7 separate regions of the Homo sapiens genome follow, and all the other regions are linked to region 1. Evidence: promoter capture Hi-C in 16 types of primary human blood cells and fetal thymus (Javierre and others, 2016). All regions are on one chromosome and are shown on one strand. Each heading gives the region's core, a stretch centred on a gene start or on the middle of the fragment in contact. The rest is flanking DNA. Distances are from core to core; before and after follow the strand shown.

What was found. The method cuts DNA at HindIII sites, captures the fragments that hold promoters and counts their contacts. A CHiCAGO score of 5 or more calls a contact.
Region 2: a fragment that was not itself captured here is called in contact with the fragment with the promoter of TMEM60 in region 1 in 3 of 17 cell types (total B cells, monocytes and naive B cells); the score reaches 6.7 in total B cells.
Region 3: a fragment that was not itself captured here is called in contact with the fragment with the promoter of TMEM60 in region 1 in 3 of 17 cell types (non-activated CD4 T cells, neutrophils and activated CD4 T cells); the score reaches 7.4 in non-activated CD4 T cells.
Region 4: a contact is called between a fragment that was not itself captured here and the fragment with the promoter of TMEM60 in region 1, in 6 of 17 cell types (total B cells, neutrophils, total CD4 T cells and 3 more). The highest score is 10.4, in total B cells.
Region 5: a contact is called between a fragment that was not itself captured here and the fragment with the promoter of TMEM60 in region 1, in 6 of 17 cell types (naive B cells, total B cells, non-activated CD4 T cells and 3 more). The highest score is 9.3, in naive B cells.
Region 6: a fragment that was not itself captured here is called in contact with the fragment with the promoter of TMEM60 in region 1 in 6 of 17 cell types (neutrophils, monocytes, naive B cells and 3 more); the score reaches 17.0 in neutrophils.
Region 7: a fragment that was not itself captured here is called in contact with the fragment with the promoter of TMEM60 in region 1 in 5 of 17 cell types (activated CD4 T cells, neutrophils, monocytes and 2 more); the score reaches 10.0 in activated CD4 T cells.

The regions. Positions count from the first base shown.
Region 1 is chr7:77,796,991-77,799,943 of GRCh38, reverse strand. TMEM60 (transmembrane protein 60) reads left to right here and starts at 1,510. Exons shown (of 2, transcript NM_032936.4): 1 at 1,510-1,690. PHTF2 (putative homeodomain transcription factor 2) reads right to left here and starts at 1,171. Exons shown (of 19, transcript NM_001395272.1): 1 at 973-1,171. RefSeq lists a silencer at 1,091-1,230 and an enhancer at 1,641-1,750. The HindIII fragment of the contact is 8,213 bases long and covers 1-2,666 here.
Region 2 is chr7:77,316,786-77,319,738 of GRCh38, reverse strand. The region is part of intron 26 of GSAP (gamma-secretase activating protein); the gene reads left to right. Among named protein-coding and RNA genes, the nearest start is that of CCDC146-AS1, 70 kb to the right of the region's middle. The HindIII fragment of the contact is 1,042 bases long and covers 964-2,005 here.
Region 3 is chr7:77,345,141-77,348,093 of GRCh38, reverse strand. All of the region lies in intron 19 of GSAP (gamma-secretase activating protein), which reads left to right. Among named protein-coding and RNA genes, the nearest start is that of GSAP, 70 kb to the left of the region's middle. RefSeq lists an enhancer at 1-61. The HindIII fragment of the contact is 5,489 bases long and covers 1-2,953 here.
Region 4 is chr7:77,364,950-77,367,902 of GRCh38, reverse strand. The region is part of intron 12 of GSAP (gamma-secretase activating protein); the gene reads left to right. Among named protein-coding and RNA genes, the nearest start is that of GSAP, 50 kb to the left of the region's middle. The HindIII fragment of the contact is 6,987 bases long and covers 1-2,953 here.
Region 5 is chr7:77,383,134-77,386,086 of GRCh38, reverse strand. All of the region lies in intron 6 of GSAP (gamma-secretase activating protein), which reads left to right. Among named protein-coding and RNA genes, the nearest start is that of GSAP, 32 kb to the left of the region's middle. The HindIII fragment of the contact is 4,120 bases long and covers 1-2,953 here.
Region 6 is chr7:77,401,085-77,404,037 of GRCh38, reverse strand. All of the region lies in intron 3 of GSAP (gamma-secretase activating protein), which reads left to right. Among named protein-coding and RNA genes, the nearest start is that of GSAP, 14 kb to the left of the region's middle. The HindIII fragment of the contact is 4,490 bases long and covers 1-2,953 here.
Region 7 is chr7:77,424,841-77,427,793 of GRCh38, reverse strand. LOC101927243 (a long non-coding RNA gene) reads right to left here. Exons shown (of 5, transcript NR_110073.1): 5 at 2,350-2,583. Among named protein-coding and RNA genes, the nearest start is that of GSAP, 10 kb to the right of the region's middle. RefSeq lists enhancers at 1-622, 1,322-2,019, 2,020-2,718. The HindIII fragment of the contact is 3,122 bases long and covers 1-2,941 here.

The sequences.
Region 1 (2,953 bases), core at 261-2,760:
CACCTGAAAAGTAGTCTCAAAGCAAGGAGGATATACTATTAACAAAGAAAGCAACCGAAAACTACAAAATATTTAATATTCACCATGAATTTCAAAATTACTTGGCATGTAAAGTACACACTGAGATTAATAAATTGTTCCAGATTCTGCACTGCCCAGGTTAGTATAAGGCAGTTCCTTGTTTTCGCCACGCTAAAAATAAGAAGGGTGACAGATTAGTGACAGAATGATCCCTGAAGTTACACAAGGAGGTGCTGAGTTAGAAAGCCATGACTCGAAGGACAATACCAGAATGCTGGCTGTCAACACTGGGCAGATAAAAATAAGAAAAGCTGAAGCATGCTGATGGAGCACGGTATTGTTTCCAGACGGGAACTATCCCTTAAGGCCCATGCCTTAAGCACCCACTCCGCCGTGTTGGGATCAGAAAACTCGACTGCCGCCTGCTCAGAGGGGGCAGGGCAGCGACCCTCCTTCCACCTCCTCCAGCGCGCGAGCCGCCGCCCCCTCCCGAGCCCGCTCCTCCGGCCGCTAGCTGACATCTCCCCGCCAGCCGGGCTAGCCACCCGAGACCCCTGAACGCCCTTCCAGGACCCGACGACCCCTCAGCACAGCGCCAAGGGAAGGAAGCAAAGGACAGGGGCCTGGAAGCGGGGCCCGAGGGGCGGGTGGCGCGCTGGGCTTCGGCCCGTCACCATCAAGACTTGAGGACCGCGCGAGCTCGGGAGGAAGGCGGCTGAGCCTCCGCCACCGGCCGACTGATGAGAAGGGGTCGCGGCTGACCCCGGCCCTCAGGTACGGGAGACTGCCGGGAAAGTCGCCGGCGACGGAGGGCGACGCGTTGGCCCCGGAGCCCCCACCTCCATCCCGACGACCGCTCTCCTCCCTCGTCCCGATCCATCCTCGAAATTCTGTCAGAACTCGACGACCTCCACACTGCCCACCCGAGCGCGGAGGTGATGCCGCTCTTACCGTAGGAGCGAGCGCCGCGCCGCTAGGAGGCGGCTGAGGTGCGCGCGGGAGACTCCGAAGCTAGCGCCGCCGCCAACAGAGCCCAAGGAGCCACAACGAGGCTGCCCGCGGGCGCGCTGCCTCCAGAGGGTTGCCCCACCCCCTCTCCCGCAGGATTTTGCGCCGGAGCCTGCAGTCACTGCGCGCGGGCAGGGAGGATGGGAGGAGGGGCGGGGCGTCCCGAGAGGGCGGAGCTGAGCGCCGGCTGCTCTGATTAACATCTGTGGGCCCAATGGGAGCACGGAAACTCCAGGCTGATCTTGGACTGACTTCCCTACTAACCCGTGACAGTAGAGAGGCGGGACCAATGGGTCTTTTTATTGCCGCCTTTCTGTCGAACCCGAAAGTAAGGAAAGGTCGGTTGGTTTGCACTGGCGGACAAATGGTCCAATTACCGCGGAAAAGGGACCTCTGAATCCAGATTGGCGTCCTCTCTACCTATAGGGTAGGCTCAGGGGCGGTGAGAACCAGCCCCGGATGTGGGCGCGGCACTGAGGTAGAACTGAGAGATCCTCTACCGCAGTCGTTTGAGGAGGCGGAACTGAAGTTTTTTCTTAATTATCATGTGACGGGTTCTGGATTTAATGGGGGGAAAAGGGCGGAAAAGGACAAGGATCCAAACTGGCGAATTTGCTGATCTTCGCGTCCCTCTCCGCTTTCCGGCCGGCAGCGCTGCCAGGTGAGTCTGGGGCTCTGCCCTAGCCCGCACCGTACGCCGGCGCTGGTCTCCTGATGCTTCCGTGGGCTGTGCGGCCGACCCTCAACCCATCACACAGCCAGCCCCAAACGCGCACACGCCTGCTTGGCTCCAGGGCTTCTGTGCGCATCCAGCAGGAACCGTGTTAAACTCCAGCATGTGCTGGGCTTACAGCCCATGAAAGGGGAGCGTCCCGGTGGGGCGCCGCGAGCCGACTGTCGGTGTTTGCAGAAGGGCAAGTATAGTTTAGGAGCGTCCTGAAGTTCCAGGGGCAAATAGGCCCCCAGATGAGCTAAGTTGTAAGCAGAACGCTGTTCCTTTGGCCAAGGCTGTTGCTGCACGGGCTTTTCAAAAGCGACTCATTATGAAGAAGAATAAATATGTGGGCTCATGAAGCAAAATTATCTTTGGGATGAGGCAGGTTCACTTGGTAGACTACTGGCAGTGGCGAGAGAAGGGAAATGGGGGCTGATACCCAGCCGTGGGCTATGTGGGTGGGGCTCTATATATGTCCATACAGGGGTAACTCCGAAGGTTTTAAAAATGAGTAAGGAATCATTAACAAATATTTAACTGTCTTCCTAGTGCCAGAAATAACCACCTTAAATGGGAAACATTTTAGTTGAGCACATTTTTGGAGTACGCACCTCCCCCTTTCTTGTGGAGAGAATAGTAGGAAACATAACGACTGCTCAAATTGATGAAGACGTAAATGTAAAACTGGGATCGTATGTCATCGTTGTAGCTCAGCATACAGGCGTACAATCCTTCAATCGTCATTTAAGTATCAGCAGTGCTTCCCCATTGAGGGTATTTCCGTGCAAGAACATAACAGAATTTTGTTGCATCCCACATTATAAATCTTGTAGGCACAATAAGATTGTTACTTGCATCCTTTCACCTCCAGCCCTAAAGCACCTGTGGTAAGTACAGCCAAATGTAAGAAAAAAATGAAGCTTGTCTTATCCGATAGCAGATGGAACAGTTAGGTTTAAGCAAGTGTATAATCATAAACCGTTTTTCAGAGGTTCACAAAAACGGCCTGATAGATTGGAGGTGGGGATTGTGCAATTTACGGGATGAAATCCATCCATGGTTATTAATCAACACACACCCCTCCAACCCTGCTTCCAAATTCAGTCCCACATCCCACTCTATGGCAGCCTCTGGCCGGGAAAGGAAACCAACACAGAAAAATGCCTCCTTAGAAGCAAAATTACTGCAGTATGAAGCCTTTGCCAATTA
Region 2 (2,953 bases), core at 235-2,734, 480 kb after region 1:
ATGTTGTCACATGGAGCAGGATTTCATTTTTTAAGGCTGAGTAATACTCCATTGTAAATTCTACACTTTCTTCATCTGTCAGTAGACATTTAGGTTGTTTCCCTATCTTGGCTATTGTGAATATGTTGTGATAAACATGGGAGTATATACATATCTCTTCAAGATCCTGATTTCAGTTCTTACAGATATTTATCCAGAAATGAGATTACTGGATCATATATTGATTCTTTTTTTTAAATTTTTTGAGGAACCTCCATACTGTTCGCCACAGTGGCTGTACCACTTTACATTCCCACCAACAGTGTATAAGGATTCCAATTTCTCCACATTCTTGATAACACTTAAATTGTGGTTTTTTGATAGTAGCCAACCTGAGAGATGTGAGGTGATACCTCATTGTGGTTTTGATGTGCATTTCCCTGATGATTAGTGATGTCGAGCATATTTTCACATAAGTGTTGGCCATTTGTCTGCAATCTTTGGAGAAATGTCTATTCAAGTCCCTTGCCCATTTTTTAATCTGGTTGTTTTCTTGCTATTGAGGTTTGAGTTCCTTATATGTTTTAGATATTAACTCTTTGTTAGATATATGGTTTGCAAACACTTTTTGTCATCCTGTAGGTTTTGCCTTTACTCTTTGGATCGTTTCCTTTTATACATATATATTTTTATTATTATACTTTAAGTTTTAGGGTACATGTGCACAACACACAGGTTTGTTACATATGTATACATGTGCCATGTTGGTATGCTGCATCCATTAACTCATCATTTACATTAGGTACATCTCCTAATGCTATCCCTTCCCCCTCCCCCCACCCCACAACAGGCCCAGGATCGTTTCCTTTGCTGTGCAGAAGCTTTTTTGTTGGGTGTAGTCCCTCTTACATATTTTTGTTTTCATTGTTTGTGCTTTGGATGTCATATTCAAGGAATCATTGCCAAGACCAATGTCAAGAAGCTTTCCCTCTATGTTTCTTTTAGGGGTTTTTCAGTTTCAGGTCTTATGTTTAACTTTCTAATGCATTTTGAGTTGAATTTTGTTTATGGTAAAGATAAGGGTCCCATTTCATTCTTTTGCCTATGGACAGTTTTTCCAACACCATTTATCAGAGATACACGATCCTTTCCCCATTGTGTGTTCTTGGTGCTTTTGAAGATTAGTTGCCTAAACATGAATGGATTTATTATTGCATATAAAGTTCTAATGAGTGTTAAACTTTATGATAGCTGTAACTACATATCAGCTGATATTTAGTTACTTCATTCATATATATTCATCCATTCATCATTTGTTCATTGCTTCATTTTAGGCCAACATATATATGATACTCATTTTGTGCCACGTACTGTTGAAAGTACACACAAATTAGTACACTTAATTTTCATAAAATTTTAACTGGTAGAAACTTAAGTTGGACCACATTAAATTGTCAGTGCCCAACCATTTTTTGGCCAACAAAAATGGCACTTTCATGTGGTTCCACTTAATATTATTCCCATTTTATAGATGGTGAAACTGAGGCCAGAAAGGTTGAGTAATTTGCCTAAAGTCACATAGCTATTAAGTGACAGAGCTGATATTCAAATCCAGGCAGTTTGGCTCCAAAATCCATGCTGCTTCTTGAATTTTATATTCCAGTTGAATTAGTTGATGTTGAAACATGGGCTATTTATGGGCCTAAAGAATCCCTACAGCATATGCTGCTCTGCATTTATGACACATCTGATACGGTTTGGAATCCTTCATTCTTCATCCACCTTATTTAATGTCTGTCTGTATGGCAGTACAAAAGGAGTTGAAAGGGACCATTTGTGAGGGGAATGGATGGTTTAAAATTATCCCAATGGAATATGAGTTATGAGGTACACCCTAGAAAGATTGAAGGATTACAGGAAAACTACCTTTGTGGCTTAAATTCTTAATTGTTTGTTGTTAACACAAAAAATTTGGTAGGGAAATGGATTGACAGTTTTAGATTTGTTCATTACAGATATTCAAGCTTCTTTTGAAAATAAATGAAACTGACTTACTGGGGACATTGTTACGCCTGGAGATCATAAAAATCCACTTTCTACCCAACTCACATTCCTTCACAGTGATAAGGAGGGAAAACAAAGATGTTATCCATAGTGATCGAGAATTATTATAAGTAGACTTATGGCTTGTGTCTGTGGGTCAGGTAAGGAAAAGGTGTTTCTCATTTTTTTAATTATACTTTAAGTTCTAGGGTACATGTGCACAACGTGCAGGTTTGTAACATAGGTATACATGTGCCATGTTGGTTTGCTGCACCTATTAACTCGTCATTTACATTAGGTATTTCTCCTAATGCTATCCCTCCCCCAGCCCCCAACCCCACGACAGGCCCCAGTGTGTGATGTTCCCCCCCAACCCTTGTCCAAGTGTTCTCATTGTTCAATTCCCACCTATGAGTGAGAATGTGTGGTGTTTGGTTTTCTGTCCTTGGGATAGTTTGCTGAGAATGATGGTTTCAAGCTTCATCCATGTCCCTGCAAAGGACATGAACTCATCCTCTTTTATGGCTGCATAGTATTCCATGCTCTCTCCTTTTCTCTTGAATGTTTATTTCCATCATGTGACATGGAAATAGAGGGGGGAGGTGACACTGGATCATGTGTGTGTGTGCATGTGCATGCTTGTATGAATTCAGGGTGTTTCTATATGCACATGCGTAAGTGTGCTTGCTTTCCAGGCCTATTGGACTAATGATGACTGTTTGAGTTACGATTGTCAGAGACTTGTAACATGAATTGGTTAAAGTTAAGAAGAGAATGGGGAACACAAAAAGGAAGTCAGGGTTTAGAGCTAGGGCATTTGCTTTTAAAAAAAGGAACTGTATTGCACTTGCTGGCTAGAGGAGGCCAGGAGCCCTGGAAGATGAGGATTAAAGTTGGGTGGAGCTGATGACTAATTATAGCCAATTTGCTC
Region 3 (2,953 bases), core at 126-2,625, 450 kb after region 1:
GGGCTCAAGCAATCCTCCCGTCTCAGCCTCCTGAGTGGTTGGTACTACAGTCATGAGCCACCATACCCATCCAGTTTCTTATTTTTTCTTATTTTTTTTTTTTTTTGTAGAGATGGGGTCTTGCTATGTTGCCAGGATGATCTCAATCTACTGGCCTCAAGTCATCCTCCTGCCTTAGCCTCTTAGAGTGCTAGGATTATAGGTGTGAACCACCATGATGGACCATAATTTTTTAATGGACAACAAACCAGTGAAGAAAAATTTTGAAAGAAATATCATCCATAATTCTACAGTTCCTAATGTACCAACTGTCTCTTCTCCCCCATTTCCTCTTGGCCTTTGTTATAGGTATGCATATTTTACCCAGTAGTAATTGTGATCTACAGATATTAGATAAATTTTAGAAATTATGTTATTGTAAACATTTTTTCATGTTGCTATGTAAACTTATAATTTCTAATGACTCCATAGGATTCCACTGGATGGCAGTGTCTTTTTCTTTTTATTATTTTAAATTAGTAAGTGTGTGAGGAAAAACTCTGTCCAAACTGTGTTTTCCCTCTCTCTCACACTGCAACAATAATCATCAACACAGAAAAACACTTCTGTTACCAAATGTGTGGGAATTCTTCATGTACCAAGCAGCAGACACCAGCTGGGTGTCCTTTAATTCAGTTCTGACACTATCTACCTAGAGACAGTGTCAGATCCCACAGGTTGGGGGACATAGTCCCCAAGACTACCCTCCACACCCCCAGATAACAGGTGCAAGTCCAGACCTCTGGAACTTCTGACCAACTGTCTTTAAGTTGGGGTTCCCACGGTACCTCTTTAGGTTTGATTAATTTGCTGGGGTGGCTCACAGAACTCAGGGAAACATGTTTACTGGCCTATTATAAAGGATATTGCAAAGGAAACAGATGAAGAGACGCATAGAGTGGGGTATGGGGGAAGGGACGTGGAGCTTCCATGCCCTCTTTCGATTCACCACCCTCCAGGAACCTCCACCTGTTCAGCTATGGGGAAACTTCCCCAACCCAGTCTTCTGGGATTTTTATGGAAGCATTCCTTCCCTCCAGGGTATGAGGCAGGACCCTCTTAGGGGAGGGTCTTAAGATCTGCAATCAGAAAGGCAGGGGGGTGGGGCGGGGGGTGGTGGTGGGGAGTGGTGGAGGGGAGAGTCATGCCTTAGGGCAGGTGAAAGGAAGGCAGGAGAGAGAGTTTCCCGAGACTAGTCCTGGTCCCGAAGCCTAAAATACCCGATATTATAACATCAGGCTGTAACAAAGGCTATGGGCATTGTGAACCAGGAGTGGGTGGATGAAAATTAATACATACAAAACACCACAATAAGTATGTCATACTTTTTTTTTTTTCTTTTTTTGAGGTAGGGTCTCACTCTGTTGCCCAGGCTGGAGTGCAATGACATAGTCACAGCTCACTGCAACCTTGAACTCCTGGGCTCAAGCAGTCCTCTTGCTTCAGCCTCCTGAGTAGCTAGGACTACACGTACATGTCATCATGTCTGGTTAATTAAAACTTTTTTTTTTTTTTTTGGTAGAGACAGGGTCTTACTATGTTGCCCAAGCTAGTTTCAAACTCCTAAGCTAAAGCCATCCTCCTAACTCGGCCTCCCAAAGTGTTGGTATTACAGGTATGAGCCACCATGCCCTGCTGGGTTGCAGTGCCTTAACTCAATTGTTCTTCTGTTTTTTGGACATTTAGTTTGTCCCTAGCCCCCATTAAAAAAATTTCTTTTTGCTGTTAGAAATAATGTTGCAGAGAATTTTTTTTCTTTCTTTCTTTTTTTTTTTTTTTTTTTTGAGATGGAGTCTCATTCTCGTTGCCCAGGCTGGAGTGCTTTGGTGTGATCTCGGCTCACTGCAGCCTCTGCCTCCTGGGTTCAAGCGATTCTCCTGCCTCAGCCTCCTGAGTAGCTGGGATTACAGGTGTGCACCACTATGCCCGGATAATTTTTGTATTTTTAGTAGAGGCGGGGTTTCACCATGTTGGTCAGGCTGGTCTCGAACTCCTGACCTCAGGTGATCTGCCCACCTCGGCCTCCCAAAGTGAACATTTTTATACATACAGTTTTTCTTTTGATCTATTCCCCTAAGGTTAAGAGCCCAGAGGTAACATTGGGTGAAAGGCTATGACGATTTTTATAGCATTTGATTCTTATTTTGTGATAAATTGATATTCAATGAAAGGGATGTCACGTGCGTCCAGGTGAAGAGACCACCAAACAGGCTTTGTGTGAGCAATAGAGCTTTTTAATCACCTGGGTGCAGGCGGGCTGAGTCCGAAAAGAGTCAGCGAAGGGAGATGGGGTGGGGCCGTTTTATAGGATTTGGGTGGGTAGTCAAAAATTACAGTTAAAGGGGGTTTTCTCTTATGAGCAGGGGCGTGTGTCACAAGTTGCTCAGTGGGGGAGCTTCTGAGCCAGGAGAAGGAATTTCACAAGGTTAATCGCTCAGTTAAGATGGGGCAGAAACAAGTCGCAATGGTGGAATGTCATCAGTTAAGGCAGAAACCGGCCATTTTCACTTCTTTTGTGATTCTTCACTTCCTTCAGGCCATCTGGATGTATACGTGCAGGTCACAGGGGATATGATGGCTTAGCTTGGGCTCAGAGGCCTGATAGTCCTGTCTTCTTATATTAATAAGAAAAATAACATAAAATAGCATTGAAGTGTTGGGGCAGCAAAAATTTTTTGGGGGTGATATGGAGCAATAATGGGCAATGTTTCTCAGGGCTGCTTCGAGCAGGATTAGGGGCAGCATAGGAACCTAGAGTGGTATAGATTAAGCTGAAGGAAGATTTTGTGGTAAGGGGTGATATTGTGGGGTTGTTAGAAGGAGCATTTGTCGTATAGAATGATTGGTGATGGCCTGGATGTGGTTTTGGATGAATTGAGAAACTAAATACAAGGTTTGAATAAGAGAATGAGAA
Region 4 (2,953 bases), core at 209-2,708, 430 kb after region 1:
TCCCTGAACAGACCAATAATAAGCTCCCAAATTGAATCAGTAATATATAACCTACCAACCGAAAAAAGCTCAGGATCTGATGGATTCACAACTGAATTCTACCAGACGTACAAAGAAAAGCTGGTACCATTCCTACTGAAACCCTTTCAAAAAATTGAGGAGGATGGACTCTTCCCCAGTTCATTCTATGAGGCCAGCATCATCCTGATACTGAAAACCTGTCAGAGACATAAGAACAAAAGAAAACTTCAGGCCAATATCCTTGATGAACGCTGATGCAAAAATCATCAAAATACATGGAAACCAAATCCAATAACATGTCAAAAAGCTAATCTACCACAGTCAAGTAGGTTTCATCCCTGGGAGGCAAGGTTGGCTCAACATATGCAATTCAATAAATGTGATTCATCACATAAACAGAATTAAAGACAAAAACCACATTTATCTCAATAGATGCAGAAAAGGCTTTCGATAAAACTCAATACCCCTTCATGTTAAAAACTCTGAATAAACTAGGTATTGAAGGAAAACCTCAAAATAATAGCCATCTATGACAAACCCATAGCCAACATCATACTGAATGGGCAAAAGCTGGTAGCATTTCCCTTGAAAACTGGCACAGGACAAGGATGTCCTCTCTCACCACTCCTATCCAACATGGTATTGGAAGTCATAGCTAGAGCAATCAGGCAAGAGAGCATCCCAAATAGGAAGAGAGGAAGTCAGGCTATCCCTGTTTGCATACGGCATGATTCTGTAGAAAACCCCATAGTCTCAGCCCAAAAGCTCCTTCAACTGATAAACAACTTCAGCAAACTTTCAGGATACAAAATCAATGTACAGAAATCTCTAGCATTTCTTTACACCAACAAGAGCAAAGTCAAGAGCCAAATCAGAAAGGCAATCCCATTCACAATTGCCACAGAAAGAATAAAATACCTAGGAATACAGCTAACCAGGGAGGGGAAGTTAAAGATGTCTACAATGAGAATTACAAAACACTGCTCAAAGAAATCAGAAGTTACAAAGAAATGGAAAAACATGCTCATGGATAGGAAGAATCAATATCATTAAAATGACCATACTGCCCAAAGCAGTGTACAGATTCAATGCTATTCCTATCAAACTATCAATATTCTTCACAGAACTAGAAAAAACTGTCTTAAAATTCATATGGAACCAAAAAAGCCTGAGTAGCCAAGGTACACCTAAGCAAAAAGAACAAAGCTGGAGATATCATGTTACCCAACTTCAAACTATACTACAGGGCTACAGTAACCAAAACAGTATGGTACTGTTACCAAAACAGGCACATAGACCAATAGAATGGAATAGCGAACCCAGAAATAAGGCTGCACACCTATGACTACCTGATCTTCAGCAAAGCTGACAAAAGCAATGGGGAAAAGACTCCCTACTCAATAAATGGTGTTGGGATAACTGGCTAGCCATATATAGAAATTGAAACTGGAACCCTTCCTTACAACATAGACAAAAATCAACTCAAGATGCATTAAAGACTTAAATGTAAAACCCAAAATTTATAAAAATTCTGAAAGAAAACGTAGGCAATACCATCCTAGTCATAGGAATGGGCAAATATTTCATAACAAAGACATCAAAAGTAATCACAAAAGAAGCAAAAATTGACAAATGGGATCGAATTAAACTTAAGAGCTTCTGCACAGCAAAAGAAACTAACAGAGTAAACCAAACGACCTACAGAATTGGGAGAAAATATTTGCAAACTATGCATCTGACAAAGGCCTAGTATCCAGCATCTACAAGGTACTTAAATTTATAAGACAAAAACAACTCCATTAAAAAGTGGGCAAAGGACATGAACAGATACTTTACAAAAGAAGACATGTGGCCAGCAAGCATGTGAAAAACTCAGTATCACTGAGGATTAGAGAAATGCAGATAGAGGTTACAATGAGATACCATCTCATACCAGTCAGAATGGCTATTATTAAAAGTAAAAAAAAAAAAAAAAAAAAAAAACCCACAGTTGCTGGCAAGGTTGCAGAGAAAAGGGAAGACTTATACACTGTTGATGAGAGTGTAAGTTAGTTCTACCATTGTGGAAAGCAGTATGGTGATTACTCAAAGGCTAACAGCAGAACTACTATTGGACCCAGCAATCTGATTACTGGGTATATACTTAGAGGAATAAAAATCATTCTACCATAAAGATATACGTATGCAAATGTCAATTGCAGCGTGATTCATGTTAGCAAAGACATGGAATCAACCTAAATGCCCATCAGTGACAGATTGGATAAAGAAAATGTGGTACATACATACCGTGGAATACTGTGCAGCTATAAAAAAGAATGAGATCATGTCTTTTGTGGGAACATGGATGGAGATAGAGGCTATTATCCTTAGCAAACTAACGCAGGAACAGTAAAACGAAATACCTAGTGTTCTCACTTACAGGTAGGAGCTAAATGATGAGAACTCCTGAACACAAGGGAACAACAGACACTGGGGTCTTCTTGAGAGTGGAGGGTGGGAGGAGGGAGCGGAGCAGAAAAAGTAACTATTGAGTACCAGGCTTAATAGCTGGGTGATGAAATTATCTGTAAAAATAAACCCCTGTGATATGAGTTTACCTATATAACAAACCTTCACATGTACCCCTGAACTGAAAATAGAAGTTAAAAAAAATTCCTGTAGTCCCAGCTCTTTGGGAGGCCAAAGTAGGAAGATCACATGAGCCCAGGGAGTTCAAGACCACCCTGGGTAACATAGACTCCATCTCTTAAAAAAAATAAAATAATTAGCCAGGCACACATGTAGTCCTAGCTATTTGGAAGGCTGAAGTGGGAGGATTGTTTGAGCCTGGGAGGTTAAGGCTACAGTGAGCCATGTTTGCACCACTGCACTCCAGCCTGGGCAACAGAGTGAGACTTTGTCTCAGATAAATAGTGCTTCAGTCATATTATCC
Region 5 (2,953 bases), core at 321-2,820, 410 kb after region 1:
GGATTATGATCAACTCCCTTTGTATTTCCCTAGAAACAATGGTTCAGTATTCAGTATACGACATTTGTGGTGACTTTACAGAACATAACTACTGCAAATAATTTGAATGAACTGTGTGTGTTCACACAGTGCTACAGCATAATTTCCTTTCGCCTAATTTCACATTTTGTTACAGGGTCAAAATATCATTTCTTTTGGTCTAGCCAGAGTCAATTTGCACCACTCAAAGTATCTGCCTTTTTGTCCCCCAAGCTATTACCAGCCTCCACCCTATGGGCCTCCCTATTCCAGTGGGTTAGGGGAGAGGGTTGTCTCTCTCTTCCCAGGGTCCTCCCCTGTCAGCCAGTCCTTTCAGCTGCGCATTTCCCCGCCACTCCTGACAGCACTGTGGTCGCTCCTCAATTCCAGATATGGCCTGGCCTGAAGCTCCCAAGCTGCATTCTCCTACCCTCAGGAAGCTACTCCGTCTACACTGTCATCAATGTGGGGAGGCTGGGGACAGAGCACACTTCTCTTTTCTGGTCTGTTCTTTGGCTTCCTTAGCATCTTGTTAGGGCCATATAGATGGTAGAGACATGACTGAAGGATTGGGGTAACTAAAGGGAATTGGAGCATAGAAAGGGGAAAAGTTTTTAAAAGCAAGTGGTTGTATACATTGCGAATATATTAAAATCTACCAAAAATTGTATATATTAAAGTGGTTAAAATGGTAAATTTTATGTTATGTGAACTCAGTTTTAAAAAGTTAAAAGTGGCTGGGCGCAGTGGCTCATGCCTATAATCCTAGCACTTTAGGAGGCCAAGGAGGGCAGATTGCCTGAGCTCAGGAGTTTGAGACCAGCCTGGCCAACGTGGCAAAACCCCATCTCTACTAAAAATATAAAAATTAGCTGGGCGTGGTGGTATGCTACTGTAATCCCATCTACTCGGGTGGCTGAGGTGGGAGAATTGCTTGAACCTGGGAGGCAGAGGTTGCAGTGAGCCAAGATCGTGCCATTGCACTCCAGCCTGGGCAACAGAGCGAAACTCCATCTCAAAAAAAAAAAAAAAAAGTTAGAAGTACATGGAACAGGACAGCATCTATAGGCCAAAGGAAAAGTCCCAACCCAAATAAAGTAAAACTTGTACTAATTCTGTGGACCCATCTTAGTCCCTAGCCCTGCCTTCTGCCCCCATGTCTCTGCCTCTGGAGAGAGAAACTCCTCTAAACCCCAGTGGCAAATCCCCGCCTTCTCCCTCCTGCCTCTAGAGAAATGACATCTACTGTCCATTGAGTTGGTCTTGCCCTGGGATCAATTTCCTTTTTCTTACAAAAACATCCATGGTGATCTCCAGCAGCACATTTCCCTAACTCTGCATGTGTAGTCTTGACAACCTACACAGAGGAGCTTCAGCAGGAGTGGCAGGTGGGGCTTGGATCCCAATCCGGGACCCTTTGAGTGTTTCCTTCCAGCACAAGGTGTGTCTTCAAGATAGTTCCAGTGGGTAATTACACACCCTCTACACACCGAGACTACAGACCTCCAAAGACCAATATTCATTCTAAGTCTAGCTCCATATTTGTGAAGATAAATTTTTCAAAGTAAATATAATCTGCATAGAATCCTACTTACAATACAAAAAAAATAACCTTGAGTGCTTTTGCAGAGCTGTGTCTGAATCCTGTCTACTTTTGGCTTCCAGGCCTTACTCTAGGACCACCTTATAATAGAAAGAAAAACAACACCTACCTGAACGGGACTTTTAAAATAACATTCTCCCTGATTGTCACAGGAAGACCAGGCAGAGGTTTAGAGGTTGGCAGTTACACCTCTTCAGCACCTCAGTCCATGTCACATTCCTAAGCAGGCATGCCCTGGCCACCTCTGTAGACCGGGAGGCCATACCATCTTCCATAGCAGCAGATATCTCCATATTTTGAGGCACTGAACATTTGTTCTCCCATCCTATATGTGGTGTCATTCATCTCTGCTTTTCCTCAACTCTGGTATACAAAGTATCTTGTTTGATGTGTGACATTTTACAAATTATGAGACAATTAGTTCTGTATTATTTTTGTAGCTGAATTCTGCATTGCTATTTTATAATTTTGACTTTATTGCTGTGAAGCATATGTTTTGCTTTTCATTTCTAAAAGGGAACTCAACTATAAATGTTCCAAAATTTGACTAGTACTATTTTTAATCTGATATTATGCAAAGGTAGGACACTAGGAAATAATAAAAAATTGTCCTAAGTTTAGTGAGACTAATGACTCGGAGATTGGGACATAAAAGTTGTGCCCTTTTATATTACTTTCAAGTTTTGGGTGAGGAAAAGAACAAAATTCACGGGTCTTTCATGCTGCAAAATGAAATGGCTGGTTTACAATTGCCCTTTTGAGTCATCCTGTGACCAGTTTTTCCTCATTATCACAGCCGACGGGGTCAGGACTTGTGTTGCTGGCAGCCTACTTTGTCCTGCAAACAGACACATAGTGGTGGGCTTATATGGGAGAGCACAGAGAAGGAGGAATGGGGTGGATTTAAGCCTTTTCTTCCTGGTGACAGTCGTTCTGTGCTTTCAGACTTGTAAATTCTCAACTCATGTGGCACCATGACTCACTGTTCTTTCTTGACAAATTCTGGTTATGTTGTGCTTTGTCTCTTGGATGTGGAACTTTGGAAGCTGTCGTGGGGAATATATTTACTTGGCTCTCAAATTATATACTAGGTTTAGTTGCACAACGACTATATCGACCTCTGTGTGTGTGTGTGTGTGTGTGTGTGAAATAGAACATTTTGTATAAATGTTGTTTGCATTGTTTCTGATTGGTTTCAGAATCAAATATTCCAAATAGGAAGTACCATCCCTAGAATTAGCTTCAACCTTAACATTTACTGTTTATTTTACTTTATTTTTAGACAGAGTCTTGCTCTATCACCCAGGCTAGAGTATAGTGGCATGATCTTGG
Region 6 (2,953 bases), core at 304-2,803, 400 kb after region 1:
GTACATGCAACAGTTTTATTCATTTATTTGTTGATGGACACCTGTTTCTAATATTTGCCTATTATGAACACTATTGTATACATAGGTATTTTTTAATTCTTTTGTGTGTGTATCTAGGAGTGGGAATACCAACTTTATTTTCTAAAAAATTATATTTCTTTGCTTTCCTTCTCTTCTCCCTTAACGATCTCTTGGTCCTGTTATCCTAAACAAAAAATGCAAGGACTATTGGACCACAAAGTGAGGTGAGGTCTCTTAGACCTTTGAGATTTAAGTAAAATTGGCTCAAACAAATTATTCAATATCCTCTAAGAAAGTAGGAGGTCCAATGTCCTTCTTGAGATTTGTGTACTCCCAGGTCATCCTATAATGACCTCTGACTCTTTCTGCTTCTGCTTAACCTTCACATGTCTTGTTTCTCATTATTTCTTAGTGATCCAGACAAGGAACCCCTTTCCTTATTTTTTTCCCCAAATTACTCACATAAGGCGTTGGTTGATGTGACAGGCTTTGTCTAATTCTGGGAGCAAATGGGAGGGAGTAATTTTGTACCTATGTAAAAACAATTTAGAATTGAATATTAGACATCTTTGAACTTAAATGTCCTTTATCCATTACAAATTTTTTACAGGTCACCTTACTCTTCAGGGTTCCAATACGCTGCTTGGTTAATTCTCTCTTCCCTTCTTCCACCCCTTTCACCTTTATTCATTAATTCATTCACCCATTCACTGATCCAACAAATAAGCATTGAGTGTTTTCCCTGTCAGGTGCTGGAGACACAGTGATGATCAACATAAACTCACAATACACAGTCTAGGGAAAGAGAATAAAATCTCAAGTTTTCAGTGCAATTGTTAGCTTAATTTCTGTGTGGCATGTATTCTAAAAAGGTGGATTGAGAGGAGACATCATAGTCTGTCTTCTGTCAATCCAGTTGTGGTGACTGCTGCTATCTTTTGTGGTCATATTCCTCTCTCCCAAGACTGTGAGCACTTGACAGTAGGAGCACTTTGCATACCAATGTGTTTTATCCCCGTTACCTTTAGCTTACTGCCTGTGAGTGGTAGGAGTACAGTGAATGTTTTTCACTGGATTGATAGTGATAGGTTCCCTCCAGAGTGGCTGTTTTTCAAAAATTTTCCAGTGACAAAGGTGCTTTGAATTCCAAAATGTGAAAGTTAGTCCAGAAAATAAATTGGCCAAAGGATAAATTAATAGGAAATTTAAACTAGCTTTGTAAACAGGCAAATTTTTCTTCTGAACCGTAGTCGCTAAACAAACCCTCCCCTTCTCCCATCTCTTCTCCACGTAGGCACAACCCTTACAGCCCATATGTTTTTTTTTTTTTTTACGGACCTTTTGATGGTTTTATTGAAGGAATGGATTTGTATACCAAATCTAGATGGGCTTTAAAATTCTTTTTTTTTTTTTTTTTTTTTTTGAGACAGAGTCTCACTCTATTGCCAGGCTGGAGTGCAGTGGCGCCATCTCAGCTCACTGCAACCTCCGCCTCCTGGGTTCAAGCAAATCTCCTGCCTCAGCGTCCCAAGTAGCTGGAACTACAGGTGTGTGCCACCACGCCCAGCTAATCTTTTTTTTCTGTGTGTGTGTATATATATATATTTTTTTTTTCTTTTTTCTTTTTTTTTTTTTAGTAGAGATGGGGTTTCCCATGTTGGCCAGGATGGTCTCAATCTCTTGACCTCGTGATCTGCCTGCCTCAGCCCCAAAGTGCTGAGATTACAGGTGTGAGCCACCGTGCCCGGCCTAAGATTCTTTTCAAGTACTGTATTTTTCCTTGGAAAGGTGCCACCATGAGGAAAGATGGTGCCATCAAGAGAAAAAAAAAATCTTTCTCTTGGTAATTGAGCTTCAGGATGGGATAACAGTGTCTGAGTCTTAATGCTTACCCATCCTTCTCTAAAAGTTTTTATTTTTTAAATTTGATAAAACTAGTAGAGTAATGTCCTGTGTACTCTTCACTCAGTTTCTCTCAATTGTTAAATCTTGTGTAACTATAGGATAATATATTAAAACCAATAAATTAATGTCGGTAGAATGTGTGCATATGGTTCTATGCCATTTCATTACTTGTGTAGATTCTTGTAATTACCACTGCAATCGAGAAAGAGTTATTCCATTTCTACAAGATCTATTGGTGTTGAAATTTTACCAGTTCGAATGAAGTGTGGAACTATTATCTCCTTTTGAGTCTCTTTACCTTTCTGTGTTTTTGATTGTCTTCGATATTTCCTATACATTCTTTAGGATCCTCATCAGGCAATGTTATACTTTTCGCCCTGATTGTCAAACATAATTTAGAAAACACAGGAGAAGGAAAGTCTATTGTGTTTACCTATATATTTGCTCTTTCCATGGTTCTTTCTGATGTTCTAAGGTTCCTCTTTTATCATGTCCTTTCTCTTTCAAGAACTTTTTTTAACCATTTTTTTTAGGGTAGCTATGCCGATGACAAATTTTCATAGTTTTCTTCATCTGAGAATGTGTTTTTTTCCTTTCATTCCTGAAGGATAATTTTGCCAAGTGTAGAATTCAGGATTCATAGTTCTTTTTGTTCCTCTCTTGAAAAACATGCCACTTCCTTCTGGGTTCTCTGGTTTCTCATGAGAAATCTGCTGTCTTTTGAATTTTTCTCCCCCCCATATAGATGTCACTTTTTTCTTTGCTGTTTTTGAAAAAATTTTTTTCTTTCTCCTTAGTTTTCTGAAGTTTGATTGTGCTGTGTCTTGGTGTGGATTTGTTTGGATTTTGCCTGTTTGGGGTTTACTCCGCTTATTGAATCTGTAGTCTCTTGCCAAATTTGGGACATTTTTAGTCATTAGCCAATATTTCTTGAAGTATTTTTTCTTAAAGTTCCAATCTGTTTCTCTTTTCTTTTTATGGACTCTGATTACAAGAATGGTAGATCTTTTGTTACAGTCACCCGGAT
Region 7 (2,953 bases), core at 131-2,630, 370 kb after region 1:
ACTTACCTAGATTGCATATAATCAGTATGTAAGGAGTTAGGATTTTTCTAACAGTAAAAGCAATCTTGACTAAGGCATTTGAAGCAAAAGTTAACACTACCTGAATCTTAGATCAAATAGAAGGGTTTACCCCAGAGAACTATCAAGCATTTTTTTCCAGAGATCTGTGGGGAAACCTACAATTTGATTTTTGAGGGTAAGTTGGGGAGTAGAGGAGAGTTTCTGAAAACTCTCCCTACTATTTCCTGTTTTATTTTTTGAGACGGAGTCTTGCTCTGTCACCAGGCTGGAGTGCAGTTGCACAATCTTGGCTCACTGTAACCTCCGTCTCCCGGGTTCAAGCAATTCTCCTGCCCCAGCCTCCCAAGTAGCTGGGACTACAGGCACGTGCCAAAACACCCAGCTAATTTTTGTATTTTTAGTAGAGACAGAGTTTCACCATGTTGGCCAGGATGGTCTCGATCTCTTGACCTTGTGAGCCACCTGTCTCAGCCTCCCAAAGCGCTGGGATTACAGGCGTGAGCCACCGCGCCCAGCCTATTTCTTCATCCTTAATTCTATTTTCCTGGTTCACTTTGTAGAATTTGCTACACAGGATGTCTTTCACTGTTAAAATTTTCATGTTTCCTTGGTTACTAGGTTGCAGTTTTCTCCTAAGCCCCTCTGTCTCTCTGCATATGAACTTGGTGACAGGGATTGGGAAGTGAATTTTTTTGATGATCTTATTGCTACTGTAGTTAAGAATCAGCACTGTTAAGCAAATGGGGCCTTGGGGATCATAGTTCAACTTCTTTTATTTTACAAATGAGAAAACCAAGTTCAGAAAAGTTAAGCAACTTGCCTAAGGTCACAGAGCCTGTTCATGCCAGGGCTGCCTCAAGAATCCAGGCCTGTTAACTCTGAGTCAAGTACTAAATACATGACTCCATTGCTGGCCTTTTTCTTTTCTTTTTTTTTAAATGCCTGAAATTCTTTACCCTCTTGAGACTCAGCTGAGCATTTGGCCAACCTGGTGTAAATATCAGGCTTTTTCTTAAGTGACAAAGTTTTGATACTATCAAAGAACACGGGAAACTACTATCTGCTCCCGGGGGTGGACACAGATTAGATGGACATTTGGAAAGCTGGAGGCCCTGAAGAGAAAGGTGACACATTACAGGGTTCAGTTTGCGATTAATACTAAGCATTCTGATGGCATGCTGCTTCCACGCAGGGGACAGAGATATCGCTTTCCCATGGACTCTAATTTGTCTCCATAGTCTCTCTTCTAGCAGATCCAGAGATGGATCTTGACTAAAAAGATAGACGTGCTGATTGTCTTCTTAAAGAAAAATTCTGTGGTGGAGGAGGTAGCCTCTTTTAAAATCTGGGAAAGATGTAGATTTTTGAGAATGAAGAGGGTTTAAATTAAACATAGTTCAAAAAATTAAACACAAGAGGGAAACTAATGGAATCCTTCATAAAATGTTTAAAATATTGCCTACGAATCTCAATACTTCTACAGATTATTTTCAGAAAATAACGGGTTTTAAGAGAGCTGAGCTGTGGCCGTTTTGGTGATGAACTGCTTGGATCCCCTTTCGAACAGGCTGGGCTAGTTTCAATTTCTCTAAAGTCGTCTGTATTATTAGCATTCATGTAAAGAAAGGTTCAGAGGTTTGCTTTTTTTTTTTTTTGCACAATAAAATCTTTTTCAAAACAATTTTCTATGATATGGTAATTCTTTTATAACCCATGTTAAGTCAGGTTTCTTTTGTATATTGTGATTCATGCTAAGATAAATAAAAAATAAACCACGATTGAAATTTTAAAAAAGAAGCTGCTTAACGAAGATCTTTAAGTAGCTAATGAGTCAGTGAGTATTCACAGAAGTTTGGTCAATGCTAGCAGGGACTATTTTGTGTTGAGAACAAAGACACCAAAGAGATAGCCACTGGGAGGAGACCGGAGGGAGGCAAGAGGCTCCTGTGGAGCACTGGAATCAGGAAAAATTTCCCAGCCCTCATTATCAAAACCGGCTGGAGGGAACAGCAGTGAAAAAAACAACATGCAAAGCCACAAACAGGTGAAAAATGCAGAAAAATGTAATGTTCTTAGCAAGGCGGCACATCCTTCATTTATGATCACCTACAACATATTTTCAAAGTAAAATCCTATCAAAGAAAATAAGCTCTTGTGATTCAACAGCCATAGGACAGCTGGCATTTCCCTCCTCCCCCAACAACTGACACTGTCCAGAGGGACACCAGAATCCCCTGAATTTGAGCATTACATCGTACAACAAAATATTTAATTTTAATCAAATTTATTTTCCTACGGGGCATTCAAAAGAGCACACTAACCCATCACTTTCGAGATGGTAATTTATTTACTTAGTTTTTGCTTATTCAGGACCTTCGATTGGCTGACTTGGTTCCTCCAGGAATTGCCCCTCCAGAGGTGGTGACAGTAGGTCTTCTGTGGAGGGAATTGCTGGGACAGCGTTCAGCTTCATTAAAGGGAGCTTTCAGGGAAAGTGGGAGCTGGGGTCTGGCTGCCAAGATTTTAATGAATTGCTTCAGATATTCTCTCTGGTGGCTTCCACTGTGTTTAGAAATTTGAGAAAAAAAATCTATGTACAGAACACATGGCAGTTGGACATTAAAAATCTGCCACACACACAAGTATCTGTCATACATTTCTTTTAAAATGGCTAAGTGCTACTCATGAAATTCACAAAGGATTTCAGGAAGTCAATGTGTATATTTTAATGAAAATATTTCTGTAATAGATATTATTTATTCCTTGTCATGAATTTGCCTGTGCAATTAAGTCATATGATTATTTTGCAAAAAAAGTTTGATTTTAGTAATTTTTTTCCTGAGACCAGTTAATGGAAGTTTCTTATTATAGAGGAAAGGACAGTCATTTAAAAGGTAAAAATAACACTTTTCATTAAGCTTCTTCTGTTATT